6 separate regions of the Homo sapiens genome follow, and regions 2, 3, 4, 5 and 6 are each linked to region 1. Evidence: promoter capture Hi-C in 16 types of primary human blood cells and fetal thymus (Javierre and others, 2016). All regions are on one chromosome and are shown on one strand. The core of a region is centred on a gene start or on the middle of the fragment in contact, and the rest is flanking DNA. Distances in the headings are between cores, read along the strand shown. Region 1 holds the start of CREG1 (cellular repressor of E1A stimulated genes 1). Region 2 overlaps LINC01363 (long intergenic non-protein coding RNA 1363). Region 3 has its middle 7.2 kb from the start of POU2F1-DT. Region 4 overlaps POU2F1 (POU class 2 homeobox 1). Region 5 overlaps POU2F1 (POU class 2 homeobox 1). Region 6 overlaps POU2F1 (POU class 2 homeobox 1).

The links. The method cuts DNA at HindIII sites, captures the fragments that hold promoters and counts their contacts. A CHiCAGO score of 5 or more calls a contact.
Region 2: a contact is called between a fragment that was not itself captured here and the fragment with the promoter of CREG1 in region 1, in 3 of 17 cell types (total CD4 T cells, naive CD8 T cells and fetal thymus). The highest score is 6.8, in total CD4 T cells.
Region 3: a contact is called between a fragment that was not itself captured here and the fragment with the promoter of CREG1 in region 1, in 8 of 17 cell types (fetal thymus, activated CD4 T cells, neutrophils and 5 more). The highest score is 8.1, in fetal thymus.
Region 4: a contact is called between a fragment that was not itself captured here and the fragment with the promoter of CREG1 in region 1, in 10 of 17 cell types (fetal thymus, total CD4 T cells, neutrophils and 7 more). The highest score is 11.9, in fetal thymus.
Region 5: a fragment that was not itself captured here is called in contact with the fragment with the promoter of CREG1 in region 1 in 12 of 17 cell types (total B cells, naive CD4 T cells, fetal thymus and 9 more); the score reaches 8.9 in total B cells.
Region 6: a fragment that was not itself captured here is called in contact with the fragment with the promoter of CREG1 in region 1 in 6 of 17 cell types (fetal thymus, total CD4 T cells, total CD8 T cells and 3 more); the score reaches 7.4 in fetal thymus.

What each region holds. Positions count from the first base shown.
Region 1 is chr1:167,551,062-167,555,737 of GRCh38, reverse strand. CREG1 (cellular repressor of E1A stimulated genes 1) reads left to right here and starts at 1,976. Exons shown (of 4, transcript NM_003851.3): 1 at 1,976-2,350. The coding sequence starts at 1,997. RefSeq lists a silencer at 1,838-2,287. The HindIII fragment of the contact is 3,087 bases long and covers 1-3,083 here.
Region 2 is chr1:167,189,346-167,194,021 of GRCh38, reverse strand. All of the region lies in intron 2 of LINC01363 (long intergenic non-protein coding RNA 1363), which reads left to right. Among named protein-coding and RNA genes, the nearest start is that of LINC01363, 4.1 kb to the left of the region's middle. The HindIII fragment of the contact is 2,029 bases long and covers 807-2,835 here.
Region 3 is chr1:167,210,965-167,215,640 of GRCh38, reverse strand. No RefSeq gene overlaps it. Among named protein-coding and RNA genes, the nearest start is that of POU2F1-DT, 7.2 kb to the left of the region's middle. The HindIII fragment of the contact is 4,156 bases long and covers 199-4,354 here.
Region 4 is chr1:167,229,968-167,234,643 of GRCh38, reverse strand. The region is part of intron 1 of POU2F1 (POU class 2 homeobox 1); the gene reads right to left. Among named protein-coding and RNA genes, the nearest start is that of POU2F1, 11 kb to the right of the region's middle. The HindIII fragment of the contact is 1,057 bases long and covers 2,103-3,159 here.
Region 5 is chr1:167,246,457-167,251,132 of GRCh38, reverse strand. The region is part of intron 1 of POU2F1 (POU class 2 homeobox 1); the gene reads right to left. It overlaps LOC124900412 (a long non-coding RNA gene), which reads right to left. Exons shown (of 2, transcript XR_007066718.1): 1 at 1-4,676. Among named protein-coding and RNA genes, the nearest start is that of POU2F1, 28 kb to the right of the region's middle. RefSeq lists an enhancer at 1,383-1,432. The HindIII fragment of the contact is 1,698 bases long and covers 1,945-3,642 here.
Region 6 is chr1:167,288,169-167,292,844 of GRCh38, reverse strand. The region is part of intron 1 of POU2F1 (POU class 2 homeobox 1); the gene reads right to left. It overlaps LOC124900412 (a long non-coding RNA gene), which reads right to left. Exons shown (of 2, transcript XR_007066718.1): 2 at 1-4,676. Among named protein-coding and RNA genes, the nearest start is that of POU2F1, 70 kb to the right of the region's middle. The HindIII fragment of the contact is 2,452 bases long and covers 1,045-3,496 here.

The DNA.
Region 1 (4,676 bases), core at 727-3,226:
GTCTTAACAGGTCCTGAACTGGTAAGTTCAAATTTGTACATGGGATATTGATAGTAGACTAACAATCCCTTTGTGCGTCTATATGAGGGACTCCTGGGCCAGTAGTTTAAAAGGTCTTGACGGGCAATAACAAATGTTGGTGAGGATGTGGGGAAAAGGAAACCCTTGTACACTGTTGGTGGGAATGTAAATTAGAATAACCGCTTTGGAAAAAAATTTGGAGTTCCTCAAAAAATTAAAAATAGAGGTACCATATGATCCAGCAATCCCACAGCTAGGTATATCCCTAAAAGAAAGAAAATCAGTATATTGAGAGATGTCTGCACTCCTGTGTTTACTGCAGCACTATTCACAACAGCTAAGATTTGGAAGCAACCTAAGTGTCCATCATCAGATGAATGGATAAAGAAAATGTGGTATATATACACAATGGAGTACTATTCAGCCATAAAAAATGAATGGGATCCTGTCTGTCTTTGCAACAACATAGTTGGAACTGGAGGTTATTACGTGAAGTGAAATAAGCCAGGCACAGAAAGACAAACTTCACACATCCTCACTTATTTGTGGGAGCCTAAATGGAAACAATTGAACTCATGGAGACAGAGAGTAGAGGGATGGTTACCAGAGGCCAGGAAGGGTAGTGGGGGGACTTGCAGGGGAGGAGTGGGGATGGTTAATGGGTACAAAAAATAGTTAGAATAAGACCTAGTATTTCATAGCACAACAGGGTGACTATAGCCAATAATAATTTAAGTGTACATTTAAAATAACTAAAAGTATAATTGGATTGTTTGTAACACAAAGGATAAATGCTTGAGGCAATGGATACCCCATTTACCCTGATATGACTATTATGCATTGTATGCCTGTAGCAAAATATCTCATGTACCCCATAAATGTATACACCTACTATGTACCCACAAAAATTAAAAATTTTAAAATAAGTAAATAAAAAGTTTTTTAAAGGTCTTGAACTTTCGGGCTTCTGCCTAACTTTACTACTAGTGTAAGTGGGCCCCTTGAGATTTCAGCACCCCAGCATTTGTTAGTGACTGAAATAATGAAAATTCTGATCAGGCCCTTGCTTGCACATGTTGACAACTCTCTTTTTGCCCAATATCCCTTGTTCCTACAACATAATCATAAACTGCTGATGTACTGTTTCTTTATCAAGCAGGAGGAGATAATAACTTCAGGGTTACGAAAAAGTTTGCAGGAGGAATAAGTCCTTTGAAGTACTTTGAGGCCAGCTTCTGTCGCCCAGAAGTCTGATTGTTCAAGGAATTATCTGAGACTGAAGAAACACAGACTTTTTCCCTCGATTCCCTGAAACTCCCCCTCCCTGACTCGCTGGCCGCATAAACACTCTCTGCTTCTTCTTTTTGTTAGGGCGGATTTGAGAGATCTTGCCCTCCCGCCTTCTCGCTTTGGCCAAATCGAATAAACTTTTATCTCCAAGCACCTATATGTCAGTGTTTGGCATCAGCTACACATGGGGTACACGAGCCTGAGTCTGGGCTTCTACAACGCTGGGACCCTCGCTGTTCTTTGGAGCTGATGGTAAATTCAACAGAAAAGAGGCGCATGGGTAGAAAATGCAGCATTTCCTCTCAGATGCCAGATATTCATCTCCAAAGGTATTAAAAGGAGGGGGTGTGTGCCTGTGTAAAGAGGCTGGTCTTTTCCTAGCAGTACGATTTGGGCAAGTTGCTTGATTTCTTCAAGCCTTTCTTTTTCCGCCTGTCAAACAAAACAAAACAAATATCCCGTTTAGGACAAATTCACAATCCTTAAAGAGGGCAGGCAGAGCGATTGGAATGCAGATGAACCAATCCCTTCTCCTGCAGGTTGCGGAGCTGCAGAGGGACCCCGCCCCCTGCATTGTGCTTAGCTCTGATTGGCGCCTCGCGGAGGGGGCGGGGCCTGGGCGCGCCGAGCTCCGGCTGGGTCCCTGCAGGTCTTGGGGCCCGGGACTCTTCCTGGAGACACCGCCATGGCCGGGCTATCCCGCGGGTCCGCGCGCGCACTGCTCGCCGCCCTGCTGGCGTCGACGCTGTTGGCGCTGCTCGTGTCGCCCGCGCGGGGTCGCGGCGGCCGGGACCACGGGGACTGGGACGAGGCCTCCCGGCTGCCGCCGCTACCACCCCGCGAGGACGCGGCGCGCGTGGCCCGCTTCGTGACGCACGTCTCCGACTGGGGCGCTCTGGCCACCATCTCCACGCTGGAGGCGGTGCGCGGCCGGCCCTTCGCCGACGTCCTCTCGCTCAGCGACGGGCCCCCGGGCGCGGGCAGCGGCGTGCCCTATTTCTACCTGAGCCCGCTGCAGCTCTCCGTGAGCAACCTGCAGGTGAGCTGGGGCCCGCGGCTTCCCCAGGCGGGCTGTGGGCGGGGCGGCCACAGAGCGAGCCTTCACTCTCCCCAGAATTCTTCCCGGGAAGTGGAGCGTGGCTCGAACGGCTGTTGCTTCTCTGCCGCGCAGGCAGGTAGGTGGGCGTTGCAGCGTCCCAGATGTTGGGCAGCTGGGTACCAGGAATTTCCCACAAGCCTCCGCCACTGGGCCACGCACCTGGGGTAAATTCTCTGCCAGCAGCCCGAGGACTTCTCATCCGTGAGTGGTTCTCAGTCGTCTTGGGGCCCAGTGTCTCTATTAACTGTGCTCCTATTCTCTTTTTTTTTTTTTTTCCCTTTGAGACAGAATCTCACTTTGTGGCCCAGGCTGGAGTGCAGTGGCGCTATCTCAGCTTACTGCAACCTCTGCCTCCCAGGTTCAAGCGATTCTCGTGCCTCAGCCTACCGAGTAGCTGGGATTACAGGTGCGTGCCACCACACCCGGCTAATTTTTGTATTTTTAGTAGAGGCGGGGTTTCACCATGTTGGCCAGGCTGGTCTCAAACTCCTGACCTCACGTGATCCACCCATCTCAGCCTCCCAAAGTGCTGGGATTACAGGCGTGAACCACCGCGCCCTGCCTGGGCTCCTATTCTTAAAGGTTTTACAGGGCATAGAGATTGTTAGGTACTTAAGCACTTTAATATGTGACTTCAGGGTTTCTCACTCTCTTACCCTTCCTGAATTAAGCTTTTCCCTCCTGCAGCAAGACGCTAACGTACAATATCATGGACGATTACAATGATTACTGCAGTCTTTAGGCCTCCACAGGCATAGTGGCTCCTCAGTAAGATGCAGAGCTGATTGAAGGTGTATCTCTTCCTCGCCCTTTGCCCACCTTCTGGTGCAGGGCCACACTTACAACTCTGATGGATCTCTGCTGTCTCAGGGATGGGGTCACAGACACCCAGCTTGGGAGGCCGGAGACACACAGAGTCCAGGAATGGAGCCTGATTTGATGGAGGGTCTTTTTGACAAAGCTCTCACATTTGAGTTCAACTCTGAAAGTACAACATTGTTGATAAAGACAGGATGCAAGAAACTGATGCTTGATTAATCACTTTTCCATTTGCCTTCCATTCGTTGTCTCTTCTATTAATTCTTTGAAGTAGGTATTATATACCCCATTCTGCAGATGAAGAACTTGAGGCCTACCTAGGTTAAGTAACTTGTTTAAAGCCAGCGGGCAAACCCCTAGTTTCATCTCAGGTTCATCTTTCTTCAAACCACCTATCACAGGCTGGTGGCCCATCAGCTGAATATGTCCCACAGACCGGTTTGGCCTACACAAAGTTCTGTTTTGTTTTTAATAAATTTGAATTTGTTACCAACATTTTAAAATTTAGATTTTACTTTAAAATGTAAATCTCTAACTTTTCTTGAAAAATGGGAAGATCCAGTGACACTGTGGGCCTGCACTCTTTGAGCAAAAACAGAAGCAGTGCCCTCTTTTAGCTAAGGCAGATACACCCCAGTTCACCATTTTCTTATTCCCAGCCCATTCCACACCTTTAGGCGTTTGCTCAAAACAAACTCACTCCACTCCATCAGTGGTGCTCAACTTTGACTGCAAATCATAGTCACCTAAGAAGGCTTTAAAAATGGGATGCCAAGGTATTTTATTGAAAGCACATTTTATTTTAAGACAACACCCCTTCCCGCCTCCCCACAAACCACTCCCTGATGATTCTAATGGGGGAGGAGGGAGATTGACCAATACATAATCATATTTAAATTTGTGAGGTGACTAGGGAGTTGCTGGTATTATTGTCCCCATTTAGGAAGTGAGGAAACACAGACTCAGAGGTGCAGGGACTTACCCTGTGACCAGTCAGCTAATGGCTGTCAGGTAGGACATTAGCCCAGGTCTTTCATGTTTCTAGAAATAGACAGGGCAGTGGCAAGGAACCTACCCAGGGCTTTAGGTTTCCATGATGGCAGTGAAAAGAAGTGGCCACATTAGAATTTGTCTGACTTGATTCCATCAATTAGCAGGTCAAAGTTTCTGCTTTTTTCTTTTCCTCCTCCTGACCTCCAGGGTGCTCTGCATTTCTTCTCATTGACAGGGGGTGAAATCGTTCAGAAGGAACAAAAAGACCTAGGTTTGGGACCATTTCTCATGTGTAAAATACCTGTCCTCTGTAACTTAGAGATATGTTGTGAGCTTCAAACGTACTTACCACTGGGCTGTTTCTTTTGTATGTCTCTTTCTTTGTGGCATTTTTGTATAGTAAATGTCTGTAGGACAGTGTTGCTGATGTTAGCTTATAGTGGGACCGTGTTTG
Region 2 (4,676 bases), core at 572-3,071, 360 kb after region 1:
GTGACACCCTGTCTCAAAAAAAAAAAAAAAAAAAAAAACCAAGAAAAAGAAAAGACAAAGAAGAAGCAGAAGAAGGAATGGAAGGAATGCAGTTACTTGGAAATAGTTTCATCCTTTTGGTCTTGCTTTTATGATTTGTTAGGTGGAAACAGGGCAGTGCTCAGCCTAGGGCTAAATACTCTCCACTACTGAGGCAAGACCTTCTTCCTGAATACTCCACCCAATGTCAAATGAATTAAGTTTTTAAAATCTGACTGAAAAAACACAATTCAGGCACAATTTCTGGCCCTGTGTTAAACCAGGCACTGTGTCCTTTAAAACCTCCTCTTAAAGTTGGTTCCTTCCCCATATTCAGCATTTGGATCAGTATTTTCTCTGCAGAGCTCTGAGATTCTCTTTCTGTGCACCTCTCTCCTGTCTCATATTCTGTCCTCTCAACTTAGACTGCTTTGGTCTCCCCAGACTCTTAGTTTTGTGTCCTCAACTCAATGAGATCACCAGTCTCTGCCTCAGTTTCCCTTCCCTGAGCCATAGCTTGGAAAATGTGTCAAGGCAGTAAACTAGGGTAATTGTAGGGCTCATTAATTTTATTTTCTGTCTCTGCAGGATCACTATCCTTTGTTACCTGATACCCAGTGTCCTGAAACTACTGTTTCATATATCTCATCCCTCTTTTTGTTACTGTTTTAGGCAGCAGGATAAAATCTGGTTCCTGTTATTCAATTATAGCCAGAAGCAGAAGTCAGAACTTTGTGTTTGATGTCACCTCAATTTGGATTAAATTACTAACTTTGTTCCTTAAAGCTTGTGTGATCTCATCAAGTTATATAAACTGCTTGAGTCTTAGTTTATTTTCTGTTAAATGGGATAAACAAACTCTTTTTCAATATGGTACCACAAGAGAAGAATGAGAAAACGTGTGAATCACAGTATGTGCTGATGAAAGAAAGGATGAGCAGCCAGGAAATATGGAAAGAAAAAAATCTCGATGAGAGATTGAGAAGGGAAGAGAGTAAGAGACATGGAGTAGAGATAGCCTGGGAGGGGCCCCTTGGGTAAAGGGGATGGGGAAGAGATGTGGGGGAGTAAATACCAGTGGAGGAGGAGATGGAGATGGCATAACAGAAGTGAGGTAAAGGGAAGGAATTCTGTAGCTGCTCAAGGTTGTGTGGTTGGGGTTCTGCATAGAGATGCCCAGCCTAGGGGTGAATGAGTCTGGAAATCTAACCTGAATGCAGCAATCCAGGCCGTCTTCCCAGAGAAAGGCACTTTTACCTTCTCTCAGAGGCTCCTTCTGCCACCAAGCTATGGCTTATGGGTACATCTGCCTGGAGGCATGTGCTTTCCTAATTTGCACAAGGTGCTGTGAAGGCTGAGAGGCCCTGTCAACAAACACTGGATATGCTGGATATAGAGACACTTATCACCTTAGAGGAAAACATCTCTTTTGGCTTGGAACTTTGGACAGTAAAGAGCTTAATGCCATTTATTCATTTGTTTATTCACTTGTTGGGGCATTCATTCATCCAACAATCATTACAGTCGGTACCACAGTGGGCCAGGCACTATGCTGGGGGCTAGGGATAAAGTGAACAGGGCACAGTTTCTGCTTTCTAGAACAGAGATGTCACAGGTTATGTGATGTGGTACCTGTGGCCTGACAGTGAGAGGAGAGAAGTCAAGGTGGGGACCAAGAGACCACCTGGACTGTAGAGCTGACCAGGTAACTATCACCAGTGGGACAGGATGACTTCTGGTTTGCACTCCCAGTGCATCCAACTCTCTCTACTGCCTATCAGCCTTAGGAAGAAGGATGTTGGCATTAGGTTCGGGGATAGCAGAGCCAGTCTGGTGAGCCTGAGAGAAGTGTTGGGAACTTTTGTTGGAATGTGGAATGCTCAGCAACTGGCATTCTCTCTGAGTACCAGTCAACATCTCTTACATTCTCCCTGAGGGGGTGTGTTCAGCTATCACAAAAAACTATCATCCACACAGGAAAGAAAGACTCTGTCCAGATTTTTAAACCTAACACCCACAGGTTGTTCCTGAGTCTCCTTTGTGGCCTCACTATCATAATTCCATTTTTGTCTTTAGTGTTCAAATCCAGGAATATGTTTAAAATGCTGTATCTGGACTTAGAAAAATAAAATCTGAAGGGACTTGCAGAGGGTGATTTTTTAATTTTAAATTTGCTGAATAGATAAAATAGTCATATGATACAACATGCAAAAGCTACAAAATGATATTTTGAAAGTAAGTTTCCCAGCTACCCAGTTACCTTCTTCAGAAGCAACTGTTACTACCTGTTTTGTATGTCTTTCCAGAGACACTTTATACAAAAGGAAGCAAATATGTACATACATAGGGGCATAGGCTTTTTTATTAATACACAAATGCTGACTCTCTATATAAATATAGATGTACGTATGGTTCTGCAGTTTGCTGTTGCACTTAAATATATAGGAAATCTCTCACCAATTTTAACTTGTTTATTGAGTAATATTAACCCTATGAACATGAAGTGGTTTATTTTTCTCTAACCATTGCTTTCATATGTATCCCATCAAATATCCCTTTCTGATCTGGTTGCACACATACTGGACTTTGCATGCTAACTTTCTGACTTGAATTCATCTTTCTTTCTCTAGTACAAGGTATCAGTCCTATGCTAGCAATGTCCCAAATGAATTACTTTCAGAAAGTGTAAGACTTAAGGAGAAATTTTTGTTTTAAATTAGGAAATACAAAACTCCTTCTTGGGTCAGATTCGTTTTAATTCTCCGAAGTTACTTGGGCTGCCAAATCACATACCTTCCCTTCTTTTTGATTGAAGCTTTGGAGCCTATATTAGTCCGTTTTCACGCTGCTGGTAAAGACATTCCCAAGACTGGGCAATTTACAGAAGAAGGAGATTTATTGGACTTACAGTTCCACGTGGCTAGGGAGGCCTCACAATCATGGTGGAAGGTAAAAGGCAGGGAGGGGCAAGTCGTGTCTTACATGGATGGTGGCGGCAAAAACAGAGAGCTTGTGCTGGCAAACTTCCATTTTCTTAAACCATCAGCTCTCGTGAGATTCATTCACTCTCATGAGAACAGTTCAGGAAAGACCCACCCGCATAACTAAATCACCTCTCACTGGGTTCCTCCCATGACACGTGGGAATTGTGGGAGTTGCAGTTCAAGATGAGATTTGGGTGGGGACACAGCCAAAACGTATCAGAGCCAGGATCCCATTTACTGGGGCTAGGTCCCCACTCAGCTAAGGAAAGGGAAGTTTAGAGAAGAGGACTCCCAGCCTCAGAAGTTCAGCGGCTTCAGAGAGTTCAGGTAGGCAGCGAGAGCAAAGGAGCCAGAAGTGAGAAGCAAAAATGGGGGAATGGTAAAAGGAAGGAGAGGGGAAAGGCAGGAGTCATAGGGTCCCAGAGGAGTGACTGCCTGGCCCAAGTGGGGCTGTTCACTAAATGTTTGTCATGTAACCTAGATCCTGCCAAGCTGCTGTCCCATGTTGGGAGAAATGATGCAAAAGAGGGCCAGGGGGATTTTCTGGGAGTTCAGCAGTGAGAGGTGCTCTGGGGGGTCTCACAGGTGGCCCATGGACCACCGGCACTAGAATTTCTTGCAGCACTTATGACATGCACAGATTGTTGAGCTTTCTTCCAAACCACATCTCTGGGGAGAGGATTTTAGGACTTCCCATGTTTACAGTGTTCCTCCTAGTAATCTAGAAGCACCCTTATATGTTGTCCAAGCTCCATATCTGACCTGACCTGGGAGAATACAGCTAGAGAAAAACCCAGGTCTAAGGAAAGGAAAGCAAAGAATTCAACTAGAAAATAAAGAATGCAAAAAAGCAGACCCCACCCTCACCCCATGGAATGTAAGATGAGTCCCCTAGAAAGAAGCATGGTAGGATGGGGGTGGCTAAGGCAGAAAGCCCACTGAGCAGCCCATAGAGCCAGAGAAGCTTCAAGAGACCTTCCTGGCTGGGCGTGGTAGATCACACCTGTAATCCCAGCACTTTGGGAGGCCAAGGTGGGCAGATCACGCGAGGTCAGGAGTTCAAGACCAGCCTGGCCAACATGCTAAAACCCTGTCTCTACTAAAAATACAAAAATTAGCTGGGTGTGGTGGCGTGCACCTGTAATTCCAGGTACTTGGGAGGCTGAGCAGGAGAATCACTTGAACTCGGAAGGTGGAGGTTGCAGTGAGCCGGAGTTTGCAGTGAGTCAAGAGCGCACCACTGCACTCCAGCCTGGGTGACAGAGCAAGACTGTGTCTCAAAAAAAAAAAAAAAAAAAAAAAAAAAGACCTTCCTGGCTTCCTTTTGGGATATGTTTCTGGGTATAGGGTTCTAGCTGGCTGGCACTTACAAATAATATGAGAAATGGGGCAGATAGTAAGGTAATTCCTGAGGTGCTGGGTCATTGCTTTTGACCCTTAGAAAGTCCTGTAATCACTGCCATCTCTCCAGCTTGTTGCTGCTATCAGTTGCCTGCTCACCACCTTTGGATTTCATTTTGGGGTCTTGTGGTACAGACTCCACTTCTCAGCATCTTGTTAACTTTCTGTTCTGTCTAAGCACTAGTTCACCCACCCTCGTGGATGTGGGGTAAAGTTTACTGAAAGTGAGGTAAAACACTACCAACTTCCAGCACTGGTTGTCCTTACGTATTT
Region 3 (4,676 bases), core at 1,027-3,526, 340 kb after region 1:
ATCAATTGAATCGTTAGCATAGATAAAATAGTTTATACACACACACAAATAATTTCATATATATATATATATATATATATATATATATATATATATATATAATGAAATACACTGTCTTGGAAGATTCAACCAAAGTGCATAGACTGTAAGTACATCAAGCTTAAAGGTGCATATACTATAAATACTATTAAGCAAGCTTGGCAAAAGAAACTTTTAAAAGTTTTCAAGCCAGGCATGGTGGCACATGCCTGGAAGCCCAGTTACTTGGGAGGCTGAGGAGGGAGCTTTGCTTGAGTCCAGGAGTTTGAGACTAACTTAGGCAACATGGAAAGAGACTGTCTCTTAAAAAAAAAAAAACAAAAAAAGTTTTCAAGATAAAATGATGATGATCATTGGATATGAAGCACTGGAACCCTCATCTCCTTTTTGTCCATGTCTTATAGAGTATCCTGTTTTTCCAAGGAAGATTTTGATCCTGCCTCAGATATTTCCATGGTCTTTCCCCCTTGAGCAGGTGGAGAGACCTTCTGCTAAATTAATGAATGTAAACTGGTCACATGCCTTAACATTCATAAAAGGATGTCACACTTTCTGACTGTAGCTGACTACTGTAATTTATGTTCTTACCCTTAATGTACAGCATAGAATATTTCTACTTCTCGGAAATCTTTACAATTCATTACTTATCAAAAAGCTCAATATCACTTATGGAGAACTATCTGATGGATACATAGCCATTTTCTCTTCTAATTCAGTGTCAGCAAATACTGTATATGGCACTGCTCTTGCTACTTACTATCCTTTCCACGCCCCTGGGCAACTTCTTTAATCCATAACCCTTTCTTATGCTGAGCCTAGACTCTTGCTCAAACATGATTCTACCCAACCAGTGCTTTGAGCAGCCATTGGCATCTCCTAGCATTGGCATGCAATATAAAATCCATTTGCTATTTCACCTCTAGATACTCTTAAAAGCCAAACTGTCAGAAAGCCATGCACTTGAAATACATCATTTTGTCCCCTGTAAGATTCTTTCCTAGAATCGTACTTTGGACTTATGTCATCAGCCTACATTAAAATCATAAGAAGAAAAAACTCTTAGAAGTTATCATATTTACTGTAGGAGTGTTGTTGGAGTATCTGTCCTTTTTCTGAGGATTATTTTTTAGCATCTGAAGGGCAGAGATTAAGTAACTTGCCCAAGTTTACACAGTAAGGGACAGAACTAGGAATTGAACCAAAGATTGCCTGATTGCATATCCTCTGTTCCTTTCTTCTCTGAGCCCCCAGATTTGTTCGCCGCCTTAGCTGCCAGCTTCTGCCCCAACCTGCCTTCCCCTCGCATCTAGACATTCAATCCTTCACTTCGTTTCCATGCAATGAGATGCCTATTTTTCCCCCTGCATTTATTGACTACGTTTCTGCCCTTCCTGGTTTTTCCTGCCTCTTTTTATTCTTCCTCATAAGCATTCTCTAGATAAACTCTCCCTGCATTTACTCAACAACCCATTACAGTCTGACATCTGCTCCAATGATTTTACTGAAATTACTTTATTGGAAACCACTGATGAACTCCTAACTGCCAAATCTGATGACATCTTCACTCTTCATCTTGCCCCATCTCTCGGCAATTTGACAATGTTGATCGTTCCTTCCTTCTCAAAGCCATCTCTGCTTCTGGTCTCAATGACAAATTGCTCTTCAATTTCTCCTCTGATCTCTCTAACTCTGTCTTGATTTTCCTCACTGGATCCTCTTTTTCTTCCCATTAAATATAGGTACTCTCCGAGGTTCTGCTTGTGTCCCTCTCATGTTGCAAGCCTGTTTGGTGTCATTATCTGTCCCAATTTCAACTATTAATATCCCTCTGAAGACAACCTACTCCTTCAGTCCCCATCTCTCCTCTGATTGTCAGACTGTGTTACATTTGTCTCCTTCACTAGAGTATAAACTATCAAAGACTAGACTATATCTTCTTTTTTTTTATCTTCTTATTCTTAATGTTACAGTACAGGCCTAGACAGAGTCGATGCTTAACATTTTTTCTTTTTTTTTTTTTGTTTTTGAGACGGAGTCTCACTCTTGTCGCCCAGGCTGGAGTGCAGTGGCACGATCTCGGCTCACTGCAACCTCCACCTCCCAGGTTCAAGCAATTCTCTGCCTCAGCCTCCCGAGTAGCTGGGACTAAAGGCGCCTGCCACCACACCCGGCTAATTTTTTTGTAGTTTTAGTAGAGATGGGGTTTCATCATGTTGGCCTGACTGGTCTTGAACTCCTGACCTCATGATCCACCCGCCTTGGCTTCCCAAAGTGCTGGGATTACAGGTGTGAGCCACCGCGCCTGGCCAACATTTTTAAAACAAATTTTCTTGCCTACTTCTCGCTGTGTTTTAATGACCATCCAATGTCTTGTAAAAAGCCTTTATTTATTCATAAACATTCATCAAGTACCTACCATATACTTGACATTACTCTAGGCAAAATATTTCCTTTGGATTTCTGGAACATCCTAGGATCAGTCACATTTAGTTCAACCTTTTTATTTTCCAAGTCTACAACTATAATTCTTTATTTTACTCATTCAGATGCACAATTCTTCACATTTTAATATCTTTGACATCAAGATGCACCTTACAAAGGTTTGATAAGAAAGCACTGTATCATAGTTTAATTGGCAGCATTTTTTTGTTTTTGAGACAAGGTCTCATTCTGTCCCCCAGGCCAAGTGCAGTGGTGTGATCATGGCTCACTGCAGCCTCGACCTGCCGGGTTCAAGTGATCCTCCCACCTCAGCTTCCCAAATAGCTGGGACTACAGGGGTGTGCACTACCACACCCAGTTAATTTTTTATTTTTTGTAAACTCAGGGTCTTGCTATGTTGCCTAGGCTGCTCTCAGACTCTTAGACTCAAGCAATCCTCCTGCCTCGGCTTCCCAAAGTGTTGGGGTTTCAGGCGTGAGCCACCACGCTGGGCCTTGGCAGCATTTTCTAATGGTACATAAAATAATGGTGCATCTTACAATGACATTTTAAACTCTATGAAATGTAATGATTTTATACTGATAATTAAGGGTTATAAAGTTCATTCTATTATGTTTTGTTATCTGAGAAATGTTTAGTAATTCTGAGTGTGCTGGACTTTGTAAGGTAAGAAAAAAATATTTTTAAAGGATTTTCAATAATAAGGGTTAAAACTAAAGGAAAAGGACTTACAATGGCACAATAGTTTCACAAATCTAAACATTTCCTCTGCTCCAAATATTCAGCAAGACAGATGAAATAGAAAAAGAGAAAACCAAAAAGAAACAGACTCAAAAGCAATAATCATTTCCACAAACCAGGAAGAGCACATAAATGCAGACCAGGAGTAGGTTAGCTGCCTTGAGGCAGGCAGTGGTACTTGGAATTTTAGCACCACAAAGAGGTGCTAAAATGGGCTTGGAACTAGGCTCTGGGCTTGGAAGCATCCTGCCCTCTACACACAGGTACACACACTCTTTTTTTTTTTATTTTGGTAATTGGTAGATATTTTAATATCTACATATTACATAAATCAAAATTCAAAACTCAAACTATAGCATTTTATGATACAGAGAAATCTCATGTTTACTCCAGTCTCACTTTCCCTCTTCTTTAGGAAATCATTTTTATTGGTTTGTTGTGTATTCTTCCAATGGCTCTTCTCGCAACTATATATATTCTTATTTCTCTTCCTTTTTTTTTTTTTTGAGACAGGATCTCTCTATGATGTTGCCCAAGCTGGAGTGCAGTGGCTATTCACATTCACAGGCGCAATCATAGCTCACTGCAGCCCAAACTCCTGGGCTCAAGTGATTCTCCTACCTCAGCCTCCCAAGTAGCTGGGACCACAGGCATGTGGTGTCTCTCGCTTTCTTAAAAGGATAGCATACCCTTTTACACAAAAGATAGCACACCATATGCACTGTTCTATACCTTGCTTTTGTCGCTTAACTGTATGTACAGAAGATTGTTCCATATCAGGACATGGAGATTTTACTTTCTTTTTTATAGCTCTGTGTAGTTCATTGTGTGCGTGAACCGTGGTTTACTCGAGTCCTCTCTTGCTGTACACATGCTATTTACAGATAAATGTTCTCTGTTACTCTCAATATCACAATGAACAGCCTTGTACCTATGTCATTTCACACTCCCACACAGTTTTGTAAATGGAGGCTGAGTAAAATTGTGGCCTAACTTCTGCCTGGGGCTACAGCTTTATAGGATGTTGAAGATTTAGCCAAGTAGGAAGACAAAGACACAGTCTTACAACCAGGAAGTCAGTAAAACCACCCGCTGGATCATTCTCCTAAGATCTAGTTATAGATTAGAAGCTTGAGAAGTAGGGTGGAAGTAAATGTAAAACTAGTAAACAGGCCGGGTGCAGTGGCTCACACCTGAAATTCCAGCACTTTGGGAGGCCGAGGCGGGCGGACCACCTGATATCAGGAGCGCCAGGAGTGGTCAGGAGACCAGCGTGGCTGACATGGCGAAACCCCATTTCTACTAAAAATACAAAAAGTAGCTGGGCATGGTGGCATGCACCTGTAATTCCAGCTACTTGGGAGGCCGAGGCAGGAGAATTGCTTGAACCCAGGAGGCGGAGGTTGCACTGAGCTGAGATTGCACCACGGCACTCTAGCCTGGGCGGCAAAGCG
Region 4 (4,676 bases), core at 1,382-3,881, 320 kb after region 1:
TCCTGCTTCGGCATCCAGAATAGTTAGGACTATAGGCAAGTACCAACATGCTTGGCTATTATTTTAAATTTTTTTGCAGAGAGAAGGTCTCGCTATGTTGCCCAGGCCAGTTTCAAACTCATGGTCTCAAGCAATCCTCCCACCTCAGCCTCCCAAAGTGCTGGGATTACAAGCATAAGCCACCAAACCTACCCTAAAATACAATTCTTAACAAAAACCCAAAATGTTGAGAATGTATGGGTTACCAGGATCAGCAGTTTGCATACAACCAACTTCAAAAACGTTTATAGTCAGCATCTAGAAATCCTGAAAGCTAAGTTAACATTAGATCTGATAATCAATTGTCTGTGTCTCCAAAATGCAATACAGAGATAAGAATGCACAATTGATTCTAGAGCACACAATCTGGACCTGGGAACTGTACAAACACTGAGGTTAAACTCAGAATAACAGCTGTTAAATCTATAGATCTTAACAGTGGAAATTCTGCAATCCCCCAATTCCATTTGATATATGCTTCATCATTCCACTGGCCTGAAGCAGAAATTAACGGGTAAGAGCCTGATAATGATCTTAACTGCTTACTGCTATAATCAAAACAGAGACCTAGGTGTGCCACTTAGCCTCTTTAAGCCTCGGTTTCCTAACCTGAAAGATAGGATAACAATACACACCCCATGGGGGTCACTGTAATTAACATAAATGCATGTAAAGCATTTAGTACAACAACTGGCACAAAGACTTGATAAATGTTATTGCTGTTGTTACTAGGAATCAATGTATTTATTGAAAAGTATGGAATCTCGTCCACAATTTCCAACTGTGGACTTGTCACTAAAAAGTACAAAGATCATGCAAATAGCCTCATAACATGAAAATCATCTTTGGCTCTTCAGCTAAATCTCATGCTTCCTGAACCAGCTATGCTGAACTTTTGTTCCTTGAAAGTGCTGTGTTTTCATTAGTTTCAAGAATTGTATGTGCAGTTATGCATCACTTAACGATGCTATGTCATTAGATGATTTTGTCATTGTGTGATCACAGAGCATATTTACACAAACCCAAATGGTATAGCCTACTACATACCTAAGCTATATGGTATAGCCTGTTGCTCCTAGACTACAAACCTGTACAGCATGTTATTCTACTGTTGTACTGCAGGCATCCTAACACAATGGTAAGTATTTGTGTATTTAAAAATACCTAGGCCAGGCACAGGAGCTCACATCTGTAATCCCAGCACTTTGGGAGGCCAAGCCAAGAGGACTGCTTGAGTCCAGGAGTTGAAGACCAGCCGGGGCAACAAGGCGAAGCCCCGTCTCTACAAAAAAAAAAAAAAATTAGCTGGGCATGGGTGCGTGCGCCTGTGGTACCAGCTCCTCAGGAGGCTGAGGTAGGAGGCTCATCTGAGCCCTGGAAGGTAGAAGCTGCAGTCAGCTGTGACTGCACCACTGCACTCCAGTCTGGGTGACAGAGCTAGACCCTACTTAAAAAAAAAAAAAAAATTAAAAAATAAAAATATTTAAACACAGAAAAAGTATAGTTAAAAACATGGTATAAAAGATTTAAAAATGGTATACCTGTAGAGGGCACTTACCTGAATGGGCTTGCAAGACTGGAAGTTGCTTTGGGTGAGTCAATGAATGACGAGTGAGCGAATATGAAGGCCTACAGCATTACTGTACACTACTATACACTTTAAAAACACCATATACTTAGGCTACACTAAATTTATAAGAGAAAAAGTCTGTGTTCAATAATAAATTAACTAGCTTACTGTAACTTTTTTTTTTTTTTTTGAGATGGAGTCTCACACTCTGTCACCCAGGCTGGAGTGCAGTGGCGCAATCTCAGCTCACTGCAACCTCCACTTCACGGGTTCAAGTGATTCTCCTGCCTCAGCCTCCCGAGTAGCTGGGATTATGGGCGTGTGCCACCACACCCAGCTAATTTTTGTATCTTTAGTAGAGATGGGGTTTCACCCTATTGGCCAGGCTGGTCTCGAACTCCTGACCTCAGGTGATCTGCCCACCTCGGCTTCCCAAAGTGCTGGGATTACAGGCATGAGCCATCACGCTGGGCCTACTGTAACTTTATAAGCTTTAAAATGTTAAAAACTTTTTGACTCTTGTAATAACAGTTTCAAACACACTGTACAGCTATACAAAAAATTTTTCTTTATATCCTTATTCTATAAGCTCTTATCTATTTAAATTTTTTAAATTTTTACCTTTTAAATGTTTTTGTTAACAACTAAGACACAAACACAGACATCAGCCTAGGCCCACACAGGGTCAGGATCATTACAATGTCACTAGGAGATAGGAATGTTTCAGTTCTGTTATAATCTTATGGGACTGCCATTGTATACTGGTCCATAGACTGAGAAGTCATTATGCGGTACGTGATTGTACAGCTGACCCTCGAACAAAATGGGTATGAACTGTGTGGGTCCACTTAAATCAGGTTTTTTCAATCACATGCAAATTAAAAATACAGAATTCACGGGATGCAAACAGCTCATAGTCACAGGGGCTCTGAGGCCCAGGGGCCAGGCACACTTTTCACATACTCGGGTTCCACAGGGCCTGCTGCAGGACTGAGGCATGTGCAGATTTTGATATTGGTGTGTGTGTGTTGGGGGAGGAGGGCACACGAGTAGGGAATCCTGGAACCAATCCCCTTGTGGTATGCCCCTGTGTATAATGAGGGATGTCTGAGATGTCTGCATAGTGTTCCCTTTGCTCAGAACATTTTCAATTCCACTTCTCACTCCCAGTTCTTGAACTGATTAATTCCTATTCATCTTTCACATCTCATTGTAAACATGATATCCTCAGAGAGCCCCTTCCCAAATCCTCTTGTCCAGATTAGCAGTCCCCACCTTATGCTCCTGGGGTACTTCAAATCTCTCGTATTCTACTCATTAAACTACAACCAGTATTATTTAACATATGATTTCCCCAACTGACCAATATACATTTTGAGAGGGCAGAGATGTTATCTTATTCATTACTCTACCACCAGTGCTCAGTACATTACAAGGAGCAGAAGCTCTATAAATATTTGTTGAATTAAATGAATGCAGAAAGACTGGCCATATTGGTTCATCATAATCTAGTTTTTATTCACACTGAGTACCACAATTATTGATAAGCTTACTACCTTTGTTCATTCGCATTCTAATAGGATGTTTCAAGTTTAAAGTCTAAATCCCATCTTCAGTACTACCTACTGCATACAATTTAGCTCTCCTACTAGGACAGGACCAAGCTTACCATGTTCTATATTTTTAATAAATATTCAGGTACCCAGATGAAAGCCGAACTGATAAAAATATATGTTATATTTACTGGTCTTCACCCAAAAGATGTTTCTGAATAATTCCAGTTTAAAAAGGAAAAAAAAAGTATGAAAACTATTCACCTAGCTCAGCCCATAATTTTATCAATAAGAATCCTATGGGTTGGAAAAATTTAGTGATTTATTCAGGATCAGAAAGCTATTATCGTTAATGCTAAAAGCAGAATAAGGATCCAAGTCTCCTAATTCTCAGTCTGTCTTTCCAGTATAGGGCCTTTCTGGTGCATTAACTGAAAACCATTATTCAAGGTATGCTAAGCAATAAATAATCTTGAAGTGCAACAAGTAATCATTTAATGTTATCAAATCACCTGTAGAGCTTTTTTAAAGTATGGATTTTCAGACCTCTACTGTATTAGAAGTTGGGCCTTCTTATGTTGAAAAAGTTCCATGGGTCACCCCATGGTGACAAAGATTGAGAACCACTAAGTCCATCAACCAAGCATTCATTATTTGTTAAATGTCTAGGCCTACTCTGTCCCTACCAGTATGTTCCTGCACTCAAGGCTCTTAGGACAAGATTTACTTACATAATCAATTAGAGAAGAAAATAGGACTGTGTATAATGAAGTGCTGAATTGGGTAACTGAACACAAATTAAGTGCTAATTTCAGAGAAAGTATGACAGGAGCTCAGATTTGACAGATGGCTATTTGTGGAGATAAAGAAATGGACAGACAGGTCCCTTAAGATAAATAAGGACAAAAGTTTTCAAGTCATGACCAGCAGAAGTCCTAAGGACCCTGTGAAAGTGCCTCAAAAGCTACTGTGGAAAGGAGGAGGAAAATGCTTTTCTTGCTCCAATATCCAATTTTAATCAGAACAGCTCCACTTTTGCCTTTAAAAAAGAACACCAAAGGCTTTTAAAAGTTTGAAATCCCTTATTTTACAAATGCAATTAAAAAAAAAATCCATGGTGAAGTAACTTGTCCTAAAGTTACTAAGCTAATTAGTGACAGAGAAGCCAGGTCTCTGAACCCCCCAGTACCTTTTTTCACTCTACCATACCATACACCATGGCCTTCCAATGGAGGAAAAAGTGTGAGTAAAGGTTCTCACACAACGTCCCAAACACACTGGCTTGACCAAAACACTGGGTACACATTCAGGTCATGTGTCTCAAACTGGGATTGGTGTTGCAAGGATGGTAATGGGAGAAAGGCTCAGGTAAGTCTCAGGATAAATTATAGCCATCCTCCCAAGATAGATCTTCAAATTTTAGGGAAATTTCTTTAAAAATTAAAATCTGATAATATGCTGTATTTGTGGTAGAAATGGACAATAAGGGAACTTCCTTGATGGAATTGTTGAGT
Region 5 (4,676 bases), core at 1,544-4,043, 310 kb after region 1:
GCCACCACACTTGGCCCAAGATTAGCTTTAAAGCTAAAATACCTCATGTTCTACTCATATGAGATGTTCTTATAATACACCTCACAAAAAGAAAATTTCACTGTTATTAACCAAAACTGTTGTTACTTAAATCTTTACTGTTCTCTTGAGGAACACAATTCTGAAACTACTAAAATAATGTCTTAATTTGCTTTTAGAATTCCAGCAAAATAAAGTCTGTGTATATGTGTTCATTTATGCTCCTAAACTGAGCATAATTAGGGAAGGTAACAAAATTTGGAGAAATAAAATAACTTATAACTAAGAAGACAATGTTATTAAAATCCATTTTTAAAAACAGTGCTCTAGTATATCAGAAAATTGAAATGTTTAGGATATGCTGGGCCCTTATATGTTTCTTCTGTTTACCAGATTACTAGAAACCACTTTTAGAGTCAGTTTGATCCACTTTGTTGATAAGAAAATGCCTCCAGGGTCCACTAAAGGTTTGGCTATGCCAAAGTTTAAAGAAAACCAACAAACCATATTGCTACCTTTGTTATTTGTACATATCAAAGTAGTATCCTCTGAGGGGAATGTCAACAACAAATGAATTCTCTCAAAACACAAGATTACTTTTTTTCTCTAATGTTCCTGTGGCAACATTCTCAAGAATAAAAATGTTAACAGGCATCATTTTCCATTCTTACCTAAAATTTAAACACTATAATTTAAATTGAGAAATATTTGTAACATTATAACTATATAAAATTAAAACAAAAAGCAAAGTAATAATAAGCCAAAAACACTGTTTTCTTTTCTATCTGATCCATGATGGATGTTCCCCAAACATCTACAACAATTCTAACAACCAGAATTCTAACAACCTAAACAATTCTAACAATCAAAATTAAAGATGAGTGCCCAACCATTTGTTCTTCATCTCATATTTTTTTCTCTTCTCTATTTTCCGGAAGGAAAATGCCAGAACAGATTGTCCAGAATGACAGAAAAGGTCAAAATACTGCTAATGTTAAGTGTTATGTTAGAAAATATACTGAAAAAAAAAATGACACACAAAAGAATTTGATACTACAGATACTGCTCCTTTTCAATGAAGATTTTGCATTATTCTATGCAAACAAGAATAAAATGTCAATTACAAAAATAAACATAACTCCTGTTAATGAAATAAGTATCTACCATCTGACAGCAAGAAGTGGGCAAAGGTAACACCATCTTGCAAATGATGCTTTCATTATTTCATTGCTCATCACAGTGCTCCACTGCACACACAAGGCCCATCCTCACTGTAGGTGAGTCAGCATGAACTCTCACGACTGTCACTTCAGTCATTCACACCAATGACCACCAGATCTTGAAATGTATCACTCAGGACAGTTCCTCCTCTAAAACTTTAAACTCTCCCAATACTACCTCAATACTCCCAGACCTCTGGCTCTTTTACTCCCATTAAAGAGCTTTTCTGCAATTCACCTGACCTCCTGCTCTTCCATTTTCCCCTAGACCATCAATTCACTCCCGTCTTCACTTCCTTCTAAATTCTACTGAGACCACAGGGTCCATGAATGACATTCCTGTCAAGACTTTCCACTCCCTTGCTCCCCTGTCCTTCTGTTCCACATCCTAACAAAGACCCCAATCCTGGAGGGCTGCCATCTCCACTCCTACTTCTACACCTTGACCTGTCAAGCACTATTAGAAAAACAAAAAGAAGGCATAACCCTACACTGCCTAGCAAGTTTCCTCATAAATCTCTCTTTAGAACCCAGATTTCAATGGGATGAGGAGGGAATGAAAGTTATATAGCAGAGGCAGGGAGTTTAGAGGAGTTTACAAAGAAGTCTGGAGATAAGGGGAAGCAAAAGGCTGGTATCTAGAGAAAACAGAAGGGAGAAGTTCGAGAATGCTGAAGTTTAAGAGGGCTGGTTACTAGGGAAAGCTTGGAGATGAGAAGATAAAGGATGCCAAACATTCTTACAGAGGCAGAAAAAAATGGATAGGATCCACTGCTTCAGATTTTAAGAAAATAATATATGTGTTTCAGTAAGAAGAATTAATTGAAAAGGTTTTCTCACCCCAGGTACTTATCTCCGGTGCAATCCAGAGTTTAACTTTTCTCATAATAAAAGCCAAAACTCCGAAATGAGACAACATGGGTTTAAATCCTAGTTCTTCTACTTTCTCATCATGTGATCCTAGACAAGTTATTTTCTCTTTCTGTACCTCAGTTTCCTCATCTGTAAAATGGGGATAATTATAATACCTACATAATAAAGTTGTTATGAAAATTAAAGGAGTTAATACATGGAAAATACAAAGCACTTGGAATAGCAATTGGCACATAATAAGCACTGTATATTAAATGTTACCTATTATTGTAGTTAAAAGACTGAAATGCTCTTAGATGCTCTTGTGTTTGTTCAGTACTACAAGGAACATACTCCCCTCAACCGCCTTATCCCAACCTAATTCCTATTATCCCTCAGCTCTGGGGATCTTCTTTGAGAAGTCTTTCTTGACTCTTCCTCTCCCTCCTCCCCACAAACTACTGGGTTAAGTGAACCTATTCCATTACTTCCATAGCATACAGGATTTATATCCTTCACAGCATTTATCACAGGGTATTATAATTTCAGTTGACTCATCTGTTCCTGCTCCTTGCCTCCCTTTCCCTACCGAACTGTGAGTTCTTCCAGGATAGGAGCTACCTTTTCTATTTAAAGTTCAGGGGGCTGTTAAAAATAAGTCCAGCAATGTATGCAAATCAGTGTAACACAGTACCTGATGGAAATTAGACGATAAAGCCTTAGATGATTGTTTTGTGCTTTCTTGCAAGGTATAACAAAGCAAAACAAATTCATCCATTAAGTTCATCTACTAACTTGCTGTCTTGTCTATCATGAATAAATGTGATGCAGTTAAACAAGTAAACATAACTACCCACTGAGTTCTTAAAGGGCACTGTACTCAAAAGAATAATCACACATCAATTTCCTGCAATGCTTTTTTAAATTCAGAACATTACTCACACAATTCTTTCCAAAATAAATCTGATAACAGGTTAAAAGGAGTAAACTGCTGTATACTCTGTAAAGAAAAATACATTAACTTCCAACTACACACCTCTTTTCACAAACCAAAGATCATTCTATTATTAGAAAAAGATACTTCCCCCTCACTGGTTATGAGAATCTGACTAGTGTCCATTGTTGTTTTATCTCTCTGCATGCAACCTTAAAAAAGTTAAACATGGCAAAATTTAAACATTCAAAATCTGCACAGTTTGATTGCATGGTATAAATATTCTACTTGTACTTTTTGTTTAATATTTAAGCATACCTTTTCAAAGGTACATATGTAAAACACGTAGAAAAGCCAAGCTAGGTTTGTCTTTTCCAATAAGTCATAAAGACATATTCCACTTACCTTACTGACCAACAACAGAATTCCTACACCAAAGTTAACAGTATGGAATAGTATGTATACTGGATCATTGTATTATAGACAGAATTTTAAAAAAAAACTATAAACAGGTCAATGTTCCAATTGATAGAAGCCTAGTAAGTACTATATAGCTCAAAACTGAAACTCAAGTGGGGATGGATATTTTCAGGTTTGAAACAACAACAAAAAGAAGCTTTGGATGAGGAAAAAGTTGGGTAACGAGGAAATTTAGGTAAAGATTAGAATATATGCCATTTTAGAAGAATCCTTTACAAATCCAAACATTTTAAAATTCGGAGATATAAAAATTGTATCACAGGCTGGGTGTGGCAGGTCACACTTGTAATCCCACAGAACTTTGGGAGGTCGAGGCAGAAGGATCACTCAAGGCCAGGAGTTTGAGACTAGCCTGGGCAACCGTCTCTACAAAAAATAAAACAAAATTATCCAGGCATGGTGGCACACGCCTATGGTCTCAGTTACTTGAGAAGCTGAGGCAGTTACATCACTTAAGCCCAGAAGGTTGAGAGTGCAGTGAGCCCTGATCTCACCTCTGCACTTCATCCTGGGCGACAGAGTGAGACCCTGTTTCTTTAAGGAAAAAAAAAAAATTCAATCACACACACACACACACACACACACACACATATATATATAACCTGATTTACTTGTAAAATTACATTTAGCATTAAACTCTATAGCACGTGGTTCATAGTTACCAATTTATTTATATCCTAAAGCATCTAAAAGTATAAACTAATCGATTTACTGTCTATGGGATTACTGGGTCAGTTTCATTTTGATGATTTTTAAAAATACAGTATTACTCCTTCCATAAAGTACATAGGTATATAATAGCTCATTTAACAGTTCCATTTAGGTTATTTCCAAATTTCACCTTTTTAAAATGAAGGACAGATAAGCACCTTTGTTCATAGCTTTTTCCAAACTTAAGGAATTTCCTTAAGGTATATGTTTTAAGTCACTACAAAAAGACTGCACAGGTTTACACTTCCATTAACAGATATGAGTGTCCAATTTACTGCATTTGTCAGTCAGCACTGAAAATCATCATTATTTTCATTTCTTACAATCTGATTTTAAATGTTTCTCAGTGTTAATTTATACTTCTTAGATTATTTGTGAAGCTAACAATTTTCTAAGTTCACTAAAAAATTTTATAATAATAATTTCATTCAATATTTTTTAAGCAAAGACCTAAAGAGAAA
Region 6 (4,676 bases), core at 1,021-3,520, 260 kb after region 1:
TCATCCCTGGATCCCTGGGATGAGACCTACTTGATCATGGTGGATTGTCTTTTTTATGTCCTGCTGGATTCAGTTAGCTAGTGTTTCCTTGAGGTTTTCTGAATCTATGTTCATCAGGGATATTGGTCTGTAGTTTTCTTTTTAATTTTTATTTATTTATTATTTCTTGTAGTTTTTTTTTAAATGTTCTTTCCTGGTTTTGGTATCAGAGTGATACTGGCTTCATAGAATGATTTAGGGAGGATTCCCTCTTTCTCAATCTTTTGGAATTGGTACCAATTCTTCTTTAATGTTTGGTAGAATTCAGCTGTGAATCCATCTGGTCCTGGACTTTTTTTGTTGGCAAGTTTTTTTTTTTTTTTAAACTGATTCAATTTTGCTGCTTATCAGTCTGTTCAGGGTTTAATGATGGCAGAAATTTCTAAAGCTTTGCTTGGTGTCCTGCAGAGTAAACCTGGTGTTCAACAACTAACAATAATATTCAAAATGGAAAGTGCAGATAAAAATTCCAAGCAATGAGGAATGGTTTTCTATTATTAAAAATTGCACCAATAAGTAGGGTAAATTTTAGCTAAATCAAACCAAGATCCTATCTTGAACTGGTATACTGGCATTTGTGTCATTTCTCCTTCTGACTTATATAATAGATATCATAATAGAGACAAAAAAGATGGTAACAGAAAACCAAGTCAAAAAAGCATTATCAACTTTATCTATAAAAAGCCTCAACAGCTCTTCCCCCGCCTCACACAGTCTCAAAGCACTGAGACACGGTAATATAAATATTTGTGTACACAGACACACACACACACACACGCACAGATTTTTCTAACATGAATTTGAAAGAAAACAAGTCAGTATAACAGCCATGCCAGATCTCAGGAGCCTCAAGCCAGCAGCACTCCTACAGTACATGGTAGCCAGAATTCATTTTGCTACTAGAGACAAAAGAGAGCACCTACAGTGTTGTTACTCTAATAATATTTCCCTGCCTCTGACTGTTTAGGAGGCTAAATGAGGCTATTAAAATTCTCTTGCTAAGCTTTAATATGCTAGTAAATAGATATTATTTTCATATTGGAAAACTTCAACAATATGCTGACATACTGTAAAAGGAAATGTTATACTTAATGTGAGGAAAGCACCTAGCACCTCCCTGCACTCTGAAAAATTAAAACCTTAAAAAATGTGTTTTTCCTTTATTATAGACTACCCCCTAGAATCTCCTTTAACTTAGAGAACATCAGCATCCAGACATTTTACCATACTCTCTGGATCCCTTCTTACAAATATATCACTTGTTTGTACTAAAATAATCCCAATACTAAGTGAAAAATTAGGTTACAGGCCACAAAAGAAAATAAAAGTGGAACAATTAATCATAACAAATAATCAGCTGTGCAAACCACCACTGAACCTTTCCCAGGGTTTTTCCTTATCACTTCACAAAAATAGCTTAAGCACCGCTGTCCTATATCATTAGATTTAGAATCAAATCTAACATAAAAGGCAACCTTTATCTCTTCTGGTTCTTGCAAATAGCAAAGGATAAAAATCACAGTTTTAGAGCAGAGAGAAATGTTAGCAATGATCAATCCAATGCTTTCATTGTATAAATAAGAAAATGATGTGCAAGGTTGCATGATTTATTTAAGGACACTGAATGAATAGCAAAGCTGAAATTCAGATCCATTTTCTGATTCTTAGTTCAGATGAGTGTTCTTCACACTGACGCCTCTCCTTCAGAAATGCATATTTTCCAACAATTTTATGAAATGACTTTTTTTTTTTTTTTTTTTTCTGACAGGGTCTCACTCTTTAACCCAGGCCGGGTGCAGTGGTGCAATTGTAACTCACTGCAGCCTTGCACTCCTGGGTTCAAGCAATCCTCCTGCCTTAGCCTCCCCAGTAGCTGGGATTATAGGCACATGCCAACCACATCCAGCTGGTTTTAAAATTTTTCTTTTGTAGCGATGTGGTCTGGCTACGTTCACTAGCCTAGTTTTGAACTCTTGGCCTCAAGTGATCCTCCCCCCTTCACTTCCCAGTGTTGGGATTACAGGCATGAGCCCCTGCTCCTGGCCAAAATTACTTTTTAAAAAGTCATCAATGTTTTGCCGATCTTTTAAAGTATACTGATCATGAGTAACTACTCTTAAAGATAATTTCATAAAATGTTCACACATTCACTCACTCAACAAACAATTTTGAGAGATTACTATGCATAGGCACTGTACTCTGCTCCATGGGGTCAGAAAGATGAAACAGACATGATTCTGACCTTGAGACGCTTCAGCTGGATGGATGACAAGTTAGGACAGACATATAGAATCTGTAATTTGAGCAAAAGCTAAGAAATGCTTTTACTAAATTTTGATAAAAGGGTATAATCATATGCATATCTCAACACAAAAGAGAACATGTGGTTTTCGTGCTACACTTTTTTTTGAGACAGGGCCTTGCTCTGTCGCCCAGGCTGAAGTGCAATGGCACGATCACTGCCCACTGCAGGCTCAAACTCCTGGGTTCAATCAATCCTCTCACCTCAGCCTCCCAAGTACATGGGACTATAGGCGCACACCACCACCACCACACTGGGCTGATTTTTGTATTTTTTGTAGAGACAGGGTTTTGCCATGTTGCCCTGGCTAGTCTCAAACTCCAGAGCTCAAGTGATCCACCCGCCTCTGCCTGCCAAACTGCTGGGATTACAGGCATGAACCACCGCACCCAGCCTTCATGCAATCTTAGTAGTTCCTTATTTATGTAGGAATCCTGTAAATAATTACGTATTTGTGGAATAAGTTTTATTACAAAGAAAATGAACTAAGTGCTTAAACTGTATAACATAATTTGCAGTTTTGGATACTGCTTTTGAAGTCTCTTCCAAGTTACTATAATTATTTTTCATTATATTTTGTCTCCCTATGTAAAAATGTAGATTTATAATTCAACTAATTTGGCAAATATTTAAATGTTTTTACATTACAATGGGGTCACAAAAAAACTGTCTAAAAGAGAACAGAACACAAGCCAGCAAATAAATGAACATCTCAGACCAAACGTTTTCAAATGGGTTTGAGTTCCACTGGCCAAATATAGAACAGAGTAAAAGTTAGTGTAACTCCTAAGACCTGAGATAGAAATTTTAAGTTATGGCAATCTGGTGTGATTGATCATAAAATCAAAATTAATTTCCACAAAATATGTTAGTCACATTAAACCATCACATTAATATACCCTCTCAGCACTTACAGCACCATGTAAATGTACACCAAACTCACTCACAAGCACCTTACAGCCTTTGGAATTTCTGTTCCTTCCACTGAAGATGCTTCTGCCCAGGCCTCTGTCTTTGTCTGAATGTCACCTCCTCAGAGAGACCCTTTGAAGTCACTATCACATCACCTGATTTTATTTTCTGTATGTACTTCTCCTAAATTTAAACCCTGTTCACTTGTCTGGTTTCTGTTTAGTCCTCACTAGAAGGTAAGCTTGCTGAGCACAGGCACCTTATAAGTCATGTTCAGTACAGCAACCTTAGTGGTAGAATCTGACAAGCACTCAGAAACATTTGTTGAATGAATGAATGATGCCTAGAAAGTCAATAAATATTACGTCAGGGATATTAGATTTAAGTCCACAATAAAACTTCAAAGAAACTATTTCAAAAAAAGAAACATGTGCTCAGACCACTCATTTATTGATTTGGAATAAAGGCAGCTCATCTAGCAAAATGCTACTACAAGTATACTCCCCTCATAGACTACCTGAAATTCAATAGTTTAAAAAAATAAAAATAAAAACATGGTTAGCAAATACTTCTTTTTACAAGTCAGGACCACAAGTGACCAAGCTTCCGGTTTGTGATGTTCTTGGCCATTTAAAGAGCACTGAGTTCCATTTTACTTATTGTTATAATGTTTCCCCCAAGATTAGCACAGGTTCTCAAATAATAAATTTAGAACTGTCTTCTATTTAATGATTGTGAAATCTGAGAACATTTTGAACGGAAATTCTAGATCCAAACTATAAATCAAACACAAAAAATTAGGATCTTGGTAAGGAGGGGGCAAGGTCAGTTAATATCTAAATTAAAATTTGTTCAGCAGCCTATAAGTAGACATAAATCTTTGTTTTTTTGTTGTTGCTGTTGTTTAGACAGGGTCTCATTCTGTCACCCAGGCTGGAGTGCAGTGGCCTGATAACAATTCACTGTAACCTCAAACTCCTGGGCACAAACACTCCTGCCTCAGCCTCCTGAGTAGCTGGAACTACAGGCACAGGCCACAGCACCTGGCTAATTTTTAACTGTTTTTGTAGAGATGGGGCCTCATTATGTTGCCTGGGCTAGACTCGAACTCCTGAGCTCACACACCTGGCCAACATAAACTTTTAAGAAACCTAGCCACTCCAAGTCAGCTCCTAAAGACACTGTATCTGTTAACTTTGAAAAATAAGACTAACCATGTTAGGAATCCTGTTGAGATTCCAGCTTCTCTTAATTTCTGAATATGAAGTCAATTCCACTGTCTGTCACAATGGAATAAGAAAACACGTTATTTCAGGAAAACTGGTGAATAATATATCTGTTAGCCAAGCATTTACTATGTACCAAGGTCATAAAATAAGCGTAGTTTACTTAGATTTACCCACAGGCTACCAATATATCTGCT